Regions from separate parts of the Homo sapiens genome. Here region 1 is linked to region 2. The links are contacts of gene promoters, found by promoter capture Hi-C in human tissues and cell types (Jung and others, 2019). All regions are on one chromosome and are shown on one strand. The core of a region is centred on a gene start or on the middle of the fragment in contact, and the rest is flanking DNA. Distances in the headings are between cores, read along the strand shown. Region 1 overlaps CTXND2 (cortexin domain containing 2). Region 2 holds the start of MCL1 (MCL1 apoptosis regulator, BCL2 family member).

Region 1 (6,501 bases), core at 2,767-5,266, 310 kb before region 2:
GTCACCCAGGCTGGGGTGCAGTGGTGCGATCTCGGCTCACTACAACCTCCTCCTGGTTCAAGCAATTCTCCTGTGTCAGCCTCCTGAGTAGCTGAGACTACAGGCACGCGCCACCACATCCGGCTAATTTTTTATTTTTAGTAGAGGTGGGGTTTCACCATGTTGGCCAGGCTGGTCTCAAACTCCTGACCTCAGGTGATCCACCCGCCTCAGTCTCCCAAAATGCTGGGATTACAGGCATGAACCACTGTGCCTGGCCACAAAAAGCATTATTAAGGATAGAGAGGATTAATAAATAATGATCAAGGGTTCAATTCAGTAGGAAGATATAACAATTCTAAATTATATGTACCTACATGGGTACACTGAAAGTCCAGACTTTACCACATTGATATATGCATGTGAGAAATCTGCACTTGTACCCGCTAAATAAAATAAATAAATAAATACATTATATGCATCTAATAAAACAGTCTTAAATAAGAAAGCAATAGAACTCTAGAGAGAAATAGATATAAACCACCATTATGGTAGATAGAACACACATTCTTCTCAAGTATTAATAGGTTGACTAGGCAAAAATCAGTGAAGATATAGAATATTTGAATAATACAATTAACAAGCTTGATTTATTGAACATCTATAAAATCTTGTGCCCTATAATTAGCAAATTCATATTTTTCCATTGTAGTCTTTAATCCCATTTGAGTTGGGCTTTTCGGTCATGTGTAACTAAGAATCCTACTTCTGTTTTAAATAACTAGAAAGTTTCTATTCCCTGCAAATAAATCCTGATTGACACAAATACCAAGCTGAGTTTTTCCCAGAAATGCAAGGGTAGTTTACATGAGAAAACCTGTAAGTGACATTTAATATATAGATTAAATGAAAAAATTACCTCAATGATTACAGAAAAAGCATTTGATAAAACTTAATACTAGCCAAGACAGGAGGATTGCCTGAGTCCAGGAGTTCGAGACCAGCCTGAGCAACATAGTGAGACGCCCCCATCTCTGGTTAAAAAAAAAGAAAAAAAAGATACTAATATAAAACACCTATGTTAATATTCTTAGCAAAATAGGGATAGAAAGGAGCTCCTTTAACCCATTTATGCCTGAGGGTGCAATTTTTTGAATTTTTGCAATCAGACCTTGGTGATGACCTTGAGCAGTAGGACATAAATAACCCCCACATGCTTAGGGTTCCAATAATGGAACACTAGGCATAAGTGGGGGTATCCATAAAAAATGTATAGGCTGGGTATGGTGGCTCATACCTGTAATCCCAGCATTTTGGGAGGCTGAGGCAGCAGGATTGCTTGAGGCTAGGAGTTTGAGACCAGCCGGGGCAACATAGTGAGACCCGTCTCTCTAAAAAAATTTAAAAATTAGCCAGGCAAGATGGTGCATGTCTGTACTTCCAGCTACTCAGGAGGCTGAAGTGGGATGATCACTTGAAGCCCGGAGATCAAGGCCATAGTGAACCATGATAGCATCACTGTCTTCCAGCCTGGGTGACAGAGTGACAGCCTGTCCAAACAACAACAAAAAAAACTATAGCAAACCTACTACTTAATGGGCAACAGTTGAAAGATTTTCCTTTTAAAATCAGGAACCAGACAAAAATGTTCACTATATTAACTTTTATGTAACATAATTCTGGAAGTCCTAGCCAGTGCAGTAAGATAAGATGAAAAAAAATGGATTGAAAAAGAAGAAAACAAAAGTTTACTATTCACAGACGTCATTGCCCGCAGATGAGTCTAAAGAAAAATGTGAGATAATTAGAGCTTAGCAAGGTGGCTGGATAAGATACATAAGTCAATTATATTTCTAAATACCAGCAACACACAAGAAAATGTAATTTTTAAAAAAGCATCATTTACAATGGCATTAAAAATACGTAAGATATTTAAAAATAAGTTTAACAAAAGTTGACTAGGACCAGTTTGGAAACAATTACCAAACTTTACTGATAGTCGTTAAAGAACACTTAAGTAAATGAAGGGATATACTATGTTTGTGGATTCAGCATAGTAGTTAGTTCTTCCCAGATTGATCTATGGATACAATGCAACTCCACCAAAATCCCATCAGGATTTTTTGAGAAAACTGACAAATCAATTTTCTTAAACGTATGAAGGAACTCAAAGGCTCAAGGATAGAGAAGATAGAAGCCAGGCATGGTGGCTCATGCCCGTAGTCCTAGCACTTTGGGAGGTTGAGGCTGACAGATCTCCTGAGGTCAGGAGTTCAAGACCAGCCTGAGCAACATGGTAAAACCCCATCTCTACAAAAACTACAAAAATTAGCTGGGCCTGGTGGTGGGCACCTGTAGTCCCAGCTACTTGGGAGGCTGCGGTGGGAGGATCTCTTAAGCCAGGGAGGTTCAGGCTGCAGTGAGCCGAGTTCATTTCATACCACTGCAATCCAGGCTGGATGATAAAGCGAGGCCCTGTCTCAATAAAAAAAAAAAAAAAAAAAAGAAGAAGAAGAATAAGACATTCTGAAGAAAAAGAATAGGGTAGAGAGATTTTCCTTATCAGCAATCAAGGTTTATTATAAAGCTATAGGGTTTATGACAACGGGGTAGGTATGTGGGCATAGATACCCCTAGAGAGCCCAGAGGCAAATCACACATTTACAGAAACTTGAATTATAACACAGTGGGTATTGTTGGTCACAGGAAAAGCATGAACTATTCAATAAGATACTGGAAAATAGGATATTTATTTTAAAAATTGCATTTAGTTATATGTAAAAGGAAAACTTGAAAACCTTTAGAAGAAAATATGACATATCTTTATGACTTCAGGCACATATTTTCTCATTATTCATCATTACATTCCTCAAAAAGGACATCTTGTTTTACCCTGGCACTTGCAGATCTCACTAGACTTATTCAGCCTGAATATTTTATTAATTTTCCACCTTCTCTCAATTAGTGCATTTCAAGAGACTTCCATCTTTCTTTGATTTCCTTTCATTTATTCTCCTTATCACAAATTTCTAGTATAATTTTATACTAAGTAAACTGTCTGAATCTTATAAAGTTAAAGAGAAAAATAAAAAAATCTGTACTTCCTGAAAGCAAATAATTCCAAAGCAATTTGCTGGGTAAAGTGGGAAAGAAGCCCAAAGGGAAGAATCAAGGGAGATTTTACTGAAGAGGCCAACACATGAATTGAATTGAGGGCTAAGAATGAGTTTATCTGGCAGCTAAAAGTGGGAAAGGGGAGAAGGAAAGAAGATATTCCAGGTAAAGATATGAAGGTTTAAGGGAGGACAATATAGTATGTTTGAGAAACAGCAATTGTTCAGTAAGACTTTGAGATATATTTTACTGAATAGATAGGATTGGTAGCAAAGGCAGCTCACAAGGGACCTTGTGTTGCAGATTAAACACTCAGGACTCAGCTTTGTAATCAGTGGGGAGCCATTGGAAAGCTTGTAAACATGAAAATTACATCATTAGATGTTTGTGTTAGAAATATCAGATAAGGCCGGGTGCAGTGGCTCACGCCTGTAATCCCAGCACTTTGGGAGGCCGAGGCAGGCAGATCACGAGGTCAGGAGATGGAGACCATCCTGGCTAACACAGTGAAACCCTGTCTCTACTAAAAATATGAAAAATTAGCCAGGCATGGTGGCGGGTGCCTGTAGTCCTAGCTACTCGGGAGGCTGAGGCAGGAGAATGGTGTGAACCCAAGAGGCGGAGGTTGTAGTGAGCTGAGATCTGCCACTGCACTCCAGCCTGGGCGACAGAGCGAGACTCCGTCTCACAAAAAAAGAAAAAAAAAAAGAAAGAAAAGAAATATCAGATAGGCAGGAATGTGTAGCGTACATGAGGCAAGAATTAACCTGATATTCTTCTATCAATATGAGTTTCTACAGGGCAAACGTCCATTTCCTGTAGGAAATGTTTGTCAATGTGGAAACTCCAATGTCAGAAGGAACATGCTGCTTCTCTTGGGTGTAGGGTATGAACAGTACAACCTTCATCGATTAATAAACTCAGCTGGGAGTGGTATTAGTTATAGAAGTCTTTGTAGAGGTGATGGCTGAGCTCTATTTGGAACAAGAAAAGAGCACTCCAAATAAAGGAATAGTGATGGAGACAGGAAGCATTGAAGCTTTCTGGAAAATGATGCTTAATTTAATATTGCAGAACTCACAATGCATGAAAGTGAAGGGTATAAAATTTCACATTGGGCCAGGCGCGGTGGCTCTCGTCTGTAATCCCAGCACTTTGGGGTGCCGAGGCGGGTGGATCACCTGAGGTTGGGAGTTCAAGACCAGTCTAACCAACATGGAGAAACCCCGTCTCTACTAAAAATACAAAATTAGCCAGGCGTGGTGGCACATGCCTGTAATGTCAGCCACTTGGGAGGCTGAGGCAGGATAATCGCTTGAACCCGGGAGGCAGAGGTTGCAGTGAGACAAGAACGTACCGTTGCACTCCAGCCTGTGCAACAAGAGCAAAATTCCATCTCAATAAATAAATAAATAAATAAATAAAATCTCACATTGGAAGGAAACTTTAAAGGTCATCTTGTACCACCTTCTAATCATTCCTGTAAAGCCCCTGCTTGAGCTCCTTGTGTGACAGGGGCTGGGCACTGACTGTCTCCTGGCTGTCTATCTATTTCAGAAGGTTCTGGAAGGCAGTAATTTTTTACCTTGAGCCAAATCTGTCTTCTTAGTACAGCTTCACTTTTTACTTAGGACTGTTTAAGGCAACACATATCTTTTCCATACACAAGAGTTTCAGTAATTTAAAAATAGCTATTAAGTACGTTTGATTGGTTTCTCAGAGGATGTGGTCTACCACTCTACCCTTTTTCTACTGAAGATTTTCTAGTGTGTCTATATTCCTTTTAAAATGTGGTGCCCAATACAGAATACAAGATGCATGCAAACTCAAGATTATTCATCTAGATACTATACTTCTGTTGCTTAAGACAGGACCATACTGAACCTTGAAAGTCAGGGCAAGGACTTTGAATTTTGTTCTTTCAGGTATCGGGAAGCAATGGAAGGTTTTGAGCAGATAAACATTTTGGGAGCAGGGGCCATATCTTACTGTGTATCCCATTGATTCTAACTAGAATGTAAGCTCTAGGTGTCTGTCCCATTCATAGCATGGATTCAGTGCCTGGGGAGGGCTGGCATATTTTATGTATTTAATACGTCTACATGAATGAATTAATATGAATCTCTATCGGTGTCTGGCACATAGTGCATACAACAGTTCATACTTGTTGAATTCAGGCAGGTAAATGATCAAAGCCATACTTCAGGAAGATAACTGGCAAGAGTGCGTAAAAAGTATTGGAGCTAACACACACTATAGGGTGAAAACAACAAGAGGAGTTTTAGCAGTCTCAACAAGGGGAAACAAGGGCTAGGATAACACAGTGAGTAACAGAAAGGAAAGAATGGATGTGAGATTGTGAAAGAGAATTTGTGACGACCTGGAAATTAAGTGGACATGTAGTGGGAAGAAGAAGGAAGTGATAAAGAAAACTCCTGGGCTTAAATTTGGAAAGCTGAAAGAAAAATGATGCCATTCATAGAATTATTTATTTTAGGAGTTGCTTTTTTTTTTTTTTTTGAGACAGAGTCTTGCTGTGTCGCCCAGGCTGGAGTGCAGTGGTGCGATCTCGGCTCACTGCAAGCTCTGTCTCCCGGGTTCACGCCATTCTCCTGCCTCAGCCTCCCGAGTAGCTGGGACTACAGGTGCCCGCTGCCACGCCCGGCTAAGTTTTTGTAGAGACGGGGTCTCATCCTGTTAGCCAGGATGGTCTCGATCTCCTGACCTCGTGATCCGCCCGCTTCGGCTTCCCAGAGTGCTGGGATTACAGGCGTGAGCCACTGCACCCAGAGGAGTGGCAGATATTTTAAGGTACTAGGATGAAATCAGTCTGAGGTAGGCTGAATTTAAATGCACTGATACAATATGCTCAGGAGGCTAAAATGTGGGACTGGAATTCAGAAGTAGAGTGAGATCGGCTAGGCACGGTGATTCATTCCTATAATCCCAGCCCTTTGAGAGGCTGAGGCGGGTGGATTGCTTGAGCCCAGGAATTCGAGACCAGTCTGGGCAACATAGCAAGACCCCATCTCTACAAAAAAACAAAAACAAAATCAAATTAGCCTGGCGTGGTGGCACGCACCTATAGTCCCTCCCAGCTACTCAGGAGGCTGATGTGAGAGGATCGATTGAGCCCAGGAGGTCAAGGATGCAGTAAGCCATGATCGCACCACTGCACTCCAGCCTGGGTGACAAAGCAAGCCCCTGTCTAAATAAATAAATAAATAAATAATAAAATACATTCTTATTAGAAAGGAAAATGCTGTTTTGTTTCTAAGTATGCCATGTATATTTTTTACTCATTTTCATATGCAGTGATCCAGATTTTGTATGGCCTAAAATTTATACAACATGGGGGTCTCTCTTTAAGGAAAGAATAAAAGATTTAAAATACAAAATTAGGGCCAG
Region 2 (7,102 bases), core at 2,366-4,865:
GTCTTGATCTCCTGACCTCGTGATCTGCCCGCCTCAGCCTCCCAAAGTGCTGGGATTACAGGCGTGAGCCACCGTGCCCGACCAAGACTTGTTTCCTAACAAACAGGGCCAGTTGCAATGGCTCATGCCTATAATCCTAGCACTTTGGGAGGCCAAGGAGGGCAGATGGCTTGAGGCCAGGAGTTCGAGATTGGCCTGGACAACATGGTGAAACCCCATCTCTACAAAAAAACACAAAAATTAGCCAGGCATGGTGGTGCTGGCCTGTTGTCCCAGCTACTTGGGAAGCTGAGGTAGGAGTATCACTTTAGCTCAGGAGGTCAAGGTTGCAGTGAGCCGAGACTGCACCACTGCACTCCAGCCTGAGCAACATGGTGATACCCGTCTCAAAAAATAATAATAACAAATAATGAATAAATGCAATTTATTTTAAAGTGAAACTTGCATTTCCTTTTTTAGCCTCTGTACAAGGAAAAATCATTGCTCCTCCTATTTCCTCAATCTCTTTCCACTTTACCACCTGATAAAATTTTACTTTATAAAGCATGAGAGCAAAGCTACCTCCTCCATAACACTTTCCTCTAGCTCTCTCAGCCCAAAGTGAATTTCCCAACCTCTTAACTCCAAAATGAAGTTGTTAATGCCTTGTGTAGAGCATACATTCCATCTCACATTATGGTTAGTTGCTGTACAAGATTAGACATTCCTTAAATAGAGAAACTATTTCTTATTCACTATAACCACAAAATGCTCTATCCTTGCCACTCATACTATAAACCCCTATGGTTCTAGGTCCTGCCCAAAACATAAATGGGTGGTATGGACGCCGTATCACCTTACTAAACTGTGACATTTTGGGGATTAGGAACTTTTGGCCAAGAGGGAGACTCACGCCTATAATTCCAACACTTTATTTATTTATTTATTTTTGAGATGGCGTTTCGCTCTTGTTGTCCAGGCTGGAGTGCAATGGCGCACTCTCAGCTCACCGCAACCTCCGCCTCCCAGGTTCAAGCGATTCTCCCGCCTCAGCCTTCCAAGTAGCTGGGATTACAGGCACGTGCCACCACGGCCCGGCTAATTTTGTATTTTTAGTAGAGATGGAGTTTCTCCATGTTGGTTGGGCTGGTCTCAAACTCCTGACCTCAGATGATTCGCCCGCCTTGGCCTCCCAAAGTGCTGGGATTGCAGGTGTGAGCCACTGCGCCAGGCCTCATTATTATTATTATTTTTTTTGAGACCAAGTCTTGCTCTGTTGCCCAGGCTGGAGTGCAGTGGCACTATCTTGGCTCACCGCAACCTCCGTCTCTTGGGTTCAAGCAGTTCTCCTGTCTCAGCCTCCAGAGTAGCTGGTATTACAGATGCGCACCACCACACCCATCTAATTTTTGTGTTTTTAGTAGAGACAGGGTTTCGCCATGTTTCCCAGGCTGGTCTCAAACTCCTGGGCTCAAGCGATCCACCCACCTCAGCCTCCCAAAGTGCTGGGATTATTGGCATGAGGCACAGAGCCCGGTCTGTAATCCCAACACTTTGGGAGGCCAAGGTAGGAGGATCACCTGAGTCCAGGAGTTCAAGACCGGCCTGGGCAAAATAGTGATACCCCATCTCTACAAGAAATAAAAAAATTAGCCAAGTATAGGGGCATGCACCTGTGTTCCTCGCTACTCGCGAGGCTGTGGTGGGAGGATCACTTCAGCCCAGGAGGTTGAGGCAGCAATGAGCACTGATGGTGCCACTGCACTCCAGCCTGGGTGACAGGGCAAGACCTCATCTCAAAAAAATAAATAAAAAGTGAGCTTGCTCACCTTTCCTATGTCTCTCAGCACCTTGCTTTTGAATTTTAGCTATTATTTTTACAGATCTTTTAACAAAAAGGCTGCTTTAATTAACGTTAACTAACATACATGGCATATAAGAAGATCCTTGTTCTCAAGGGCTTTACAAACCTCTAGAGTCAAATGTGCCTTATTATCAGTACAAAAATAAATGGTGTCAGCTGGGTGCAGTGACTCACACCTGTAATCCCAGCACTTTAAGAGGCTGAGGCAGGTGGATCACCTGAGGCCAGGAGTTTGAGACCAGCCTGGCCAACATGGTGAAACCACATTGTCAGGCCTCTGAGCCCAAGCCAAGCCATCGCATCCCCTGTGACTTGCACGTATACATCCAGATGGCCTGAAGTAACTGAAGATCCACAAAAGAAGTAAAAATAGCCTTAACTGATGACATTCCACCATTGTGATTTGTTTCTGCCCCACCCGAACTGATCAATGTACTTTGTAATCTCCCCCACCCTTAAGAAGGTTCTTTGTAATTCTCCCCACCCTTGAGAATGTACTTTGTGAGATCCACCCCTGCCCACAAAACATTGCTCTCAACTTCACCACCTATCCCAAAACCTGTAAGAACTAATGATAATCCATCACCCTTTGCTGACTCTCTTTTCGGACTCAGCCCGCCTGCACCCAGGTGAAATAAACAGCCATGTTGCTCACACAAAGCCTGTTTGGTGGTGTCTTCACACAGACGCGCATGAAACACATCTCTACTAAAAATACAATAATCAGCTGGGCGAGGTGGCTCACAGCTGTAATCTCAGCACTTTGGGAGGCCGAGACAGGCAGGTCACTTGAGGCCATGAGTTCGAGACCAGCCTGGCCAACATCGTGAAAACCCCATCTCTACCAAAAATACAAAAACTAGCCAGATGTGGTGGCGCACGCCTGTAATCCCAGCTACTCGGGAGGCTGAGGTACCGAATCGTCTGAACGTGGGAAGTGGAGCTTGTAGTGAGCCGAGATCGCCCCACTGCACTCCAGCCTGGGCAACAGAGCTAGACTGTCTCAAAACAAACAAAAAATGGTGTCAAGACTCTCAGACGAGATTCTAATGGATTAAGGCCTATATGTAAATAGCACCAAAGACTATGGAACAGAGATGGGAGAAGCAAGCAGGGAGGCAGGAATAGTTTAGCTGTGGCAGTTTTAGCTTAGTCCACTTACATAAATGGTTCTTTAGGGTAGCACGTGGAGCATCCTCATTTCCAAACATTGGACTGAGAGTAGAGAGCTGTGCAAAATAACCACAAGTCCCCAACTATGCCCTCTTAATTATCCCTATCATCTAAGACTGTTGTTCCCATCCATCACTGAACTTCCCCGTCCTCTTCCTTCAACCCCTGTGTTAGTCAATGGTTGAAATTTTGATTTGGTAAAAAACCTCTGGCGAAAACCAGCAAAAAGGGCTCACAAATCAGGTCTCAGGGAAGCACAGAGGTAGCCACGAGAAGGCCCGAGGTGCTCATGGAAAGAGCTCGAGCCCAGGAGCTCTGGGAGGACCCCAGGCGCTCGGAGCCGCCGTTACGTAACCGGCACTCAGAGCCTCCGAAGACCGGAAGGCCCCGCTCAGGCCCCGGCTCAGGCCCCGGCCCCGGCCCCGGCCCCGGCCCCGCCCCGGCCCGGCCGGGCAGCTGGTAGGTGCCGTGCGCAACCCTCCGGAAGCTGCCGCCCCTTTCCCCTTTTATGGGAATACTTTTTTTAAAAAAAAAGAGTTCGCTGGCGCCACCCCGTAGGACTGGCCGCCCTAAAACCGTGATAAAGGAGCTGCTCGCCACTTCTCACTTCCGCTTCCTTCCAGTAAGGAGTCGGGGTCTTCCCCAGTTTTCTCAGCCAGGCGGCGGCGGCGACTGGCAATGTTTGGCCTCAAAAGAAACGCGGTAATCGGACTCAACCTCTACTGTGGGGGGGCCGGCTTGGGGGCCGGCAGCGGCGGCGCCACCCGCCCGGGAGGGCGACTTTTGGCTACGGAGAAGGAGGCCTCGGCCCGGCGAGAGATAGGGGGAGGGGAGGCCGGCGCGGTGATTGGCGGAAGCGCCGGCGCAAGCCCCCCGTCCACCCTCACGCCAGACTCCCGGAGGGTCGCGCGGCCGCCGCCCATTGGCGCCGAGGTCCCCGACGTCACCGCGACCCCCGCGAGGCTGCTTTTCTTCGCGCCCACCCGCCGCGCGGCGCCGCTTGAGGAGATGGAAGCCCCGGCCGCTGACGCCATCATGTCGCCCGAAGAGGAGCTGGACGGGTACGAGCCGGAGCCTCTCGGGAAGCGGCCGGCTGTCCTGCCGCTGCTGGAGTTGGTCGGGGAATCTGGTAATAACACCAGTACGGACGGGTCACTACCCTCGACGCCGCCGCCAGCAGAGGAGGAGGAGGACGAGTTGTACCGGCAGTCGCTGGAGATTATCTCTCGGTACCTTCGGGAGCAGGCCACCGGCGCCAAGGACACAAAGCCAATGGGCAGGTCTGGGGCCACCAGCAGGAAGGCGCTGGAGACCTTACGACGGGTTGGGGATGGCGTGCAGCGCAACCACGAGACGGCCTTCCAAGGTAAGGGGGTTCATTAATCGCCAAGGCCTCACTCCCTTTTTTCCATCTCTCCCCGGACTCACCCGCCAAGGGTGGGTTGGAAACCGAAACGAGTCAGTGTTGAAACGTGTCTCATCCTATTCCTGAAGCCAGAATATTCTGGCCATGAGTCATTGTTTCCGCCCATCTTGATTCTTTTGGAAATGGCAGCTCTTGTTCAAAGACCGGAAAGGGTGGGATGTCAATTTCAAGTGGGGTCAACCTGAGTTCTGTAAATCCCAGTAGCGATTTTCCCGCCGCGGGTGGGCAGGCGAATCTTGCGCCGGTTTAGACAAAGGAGGCCGTGAGGACCTGCATGCTTTTCTTTCTCAGGCATGCTTCGGAAACTGGACATCAAAAACGAAGACGATGTGAAATCGTTGTCTCGAGTGATGATCCATGTTTTCAGCGACGGCGTAACAAACTGGGGCAGGATTGTGACTCTCATTTCTTTTGGTGCCTTTGTGGCTAAACACTTGAAGACCATAAACCAAGAAAGCTGCATCGAACCATTAGCAGAAAGTATCACAGACGTTCTCGTAAGGACAAAACGGGACTGGCTAGTTAAACAAAGAGGCTGGGTAAGTTTGCCTTAAGGATGAAAGGGGCCTTGGAGTGGAAGTAGAATGAAGGATTTTTTTTAGAGAGGTGGGGATATCTAAAGGTTTTTATGACGCACGGCTGTTTGCAGGCTCTAACTAAAGGACCATTGTTTATTTGATGTTGATTTAAGTAGTGGATCCTTAGAGATAGTGGTATGGCGGTCTTGAATTGTATCAAAAATCTTGGTTTTCTCTAGGCAATTTTTTGTTCCAATTCAGTTGAATACTCTTCAGTGGATTCAAACCATGAAAAAATAAGTCACCAGGGGAGGATAGCTGAAATAATTCCTAAGGCGGTGCCTGTTTTAATGGAGAAGATATGGGGTGGAGCCTGCGTTTTAAACAAACCCAGATCTGATGCAGGATGTACTTAACTACGTTGAGAAAAACTGATCTGCGCAATTGAGGCGTTACTGAAATATTAGGTGGTGGAGATTTGAGAATAAGGGTTTTCGTCTTTTACCTCATGGGAACTCTGGAAGTCCTTTTGTTAGGATAAATCCTAATAAGACCAAGATAGTACTGTAAAATGAAGTTTAATTATCATGGGTCCCCGCTTAAGAAACTGAAGAACTTATTTTCTTTTTTTGCCCCGGGGTGAATAATAATTGGTTTACTATTGCTTTAGGGGGAAACCTTAGATATTTTAATTTACCTTCTCTCTGGATAGTAGTGTTGTAAGAGAGCAGAAACCCATACTTGAAAATGTGCTTTTCTTTTTTGTTTTCTAGGATGGGTTTGTGGAGTTCTTCCATGTAGAGGACCTAGAAGGTGGCATCAGGAATGTGCTGCTGGCTTTTGCAGGTGTTGCTGGAGTAGGAGCTGGTTTGGCATATCTAATAAGATAGCCTTACTGTAAGTGCAATAGTTGACTTTTAACCAACCACCACCACCACCAAAACCAGTTTATGCAGTTGGACTCCAAGCTGTAACTTCCTAGAGTTGCACCCTAGCAACCTAGCCAGAAAAGCAAGTGGCAAGAGGATTATGGCTAACAAGAATAAATACATGGGAAGAGTGCTCCCCATTGATTGAAGAGTCACTGTCTGAAAGAAGCAAAGTTCAGTTTCAGCAACAAACAAACTTTGTTTGGGAAGCTATGGAGGAGGACTTTTAGATTTAGTGAAGATGGTAGGGTGGAAAGACTTAATTTCCTTGTTGAGAACAGGAAAGTGGCCAGTAGCCAGGCAAGTCATAGAATTGATTACCCGCCGAATTCATTAATTTACTGTAGTGTTAAGAGAAGCACTAAGAATGCCAGTGACCTGTGTAAAAGTTACAAGTAATAGAACTATGACTGTAAGCCTCAGTACTGTACAAGGGAAGCTTTTCCTCTCTCTAATTAGCTTTCCCAGTATACTTCTTAGAAAGTCCAAGTGTTCAGGACTTTTATACCTGTTATACTTTGGCTTGGTTTCCATGATTCTTACTTTATTAGCCTAGTTTATCACCAATAATACTTGACGGAAGGCTCAGTAATTAGTTATGAATATGGATATCCTCAATTCTTAAGACAGCTTGTAAATGTATTTGTAAAAATTGTATATATTTTTACAGAAAGTCTATTTCTTTGAAACGAAGGAAGTATCGAATTTACATTAGTTTTTTTCATACCCTTTTGAACTTTGCAACTTCCGTAATTAGGAACCTGTTTCTTACAGCTTTTCTATGCTAAACTTTGTTCTGTTCAGTTCTAGAGTGTATACAGAACGAATTGATGTGTAACTGTATGCAGACTGGTTGTAGTGGAACAAATCTGATAACTATGCAGGTTTAAATTTTCTTATCTGATTTTGGTAAGTATTCCTTAGGTTTTTCTTTGAAAACCTGGGATTGAGAGGTTGATGAATGGAAATTCTTTCACTTCATTATATGCAAGTTTTCAATAATTAGGTCTAAGTGGAGTTTTAAGGTTACTGATGACTTACAAATAATGGGCTCTGATTGGGCAATACTCATTTGAGTTCCTTCCATTTGACCTAATTTAACTGGTGAAATTTAAAGTGAATTCATGGGCTCATCTTTAAAGCTTTTACTAAAAGATTTTCAGCTGAATGGAACTCATTAGCTGTGTGCATATAAAAAGATCACATCAGGTGG

What was found. Contacts are between HindIII fragments. The study calls those that stand out against the background at their distance.
Region 1: a contact is called between a fragment that was not itself captured here and the fragment with the promoter of MCL1 in region 2, in 2 of the 25 tissues and cell types used here (dorsolateral prefrontal cortex and hippocampus).

The regions. Positions count from the first base shown.
Region 1 is chr1:150,888,512-150,895,012 of GRCh38, reverse strand. All of the region lies in intron 1 of CTXND2 (cortexin domain containing 2), which reads right to left. It also overlaps a transcript of LOC107985204 not described here. Among named protein-coding and RNA genes, the nearest start is that of CTXND2, 4.6 kb to the right of the region's middle. RefSeq lists cis regulatory regions at 2,497, 3,376 and enhancers at 2,425-2,569, 3,304-3,448. The HindIII fragment of the contact is 3,962 bases long and covers 2,036-5,997 here.
Region 2 is chr1:150,576,123-150,583,224 of GRCh38, reverse strand. It overlaps MCL1 (MCL1 apoptosis regulator, BCL2 family member), which reads left to right and starts at 3,615. Exons shown (of 3, transcript NM_021960.5): 1 at 3,615-4,382; 2 at 4,734-4,981; 3 at 5,734-7,102. The coding sequence starts at 3,695. The coding sequence ends at 5,850. LOC107985203 (a long non-coding RNA gene) reads right to left here and starts at 3,395. Exons shown (of 3, transcript NR_186818.1): 1 at 3,006-3,395. RefSeq lists silencers at 3,305-3,644, 3,715-3,844 and enhancers at 3,418-3,712, 3,761-4,478, 4,479-5,197, 4,158-5,357. The HindIII fragment of the contact is 14,201 bases long and covers 1-6,680 here.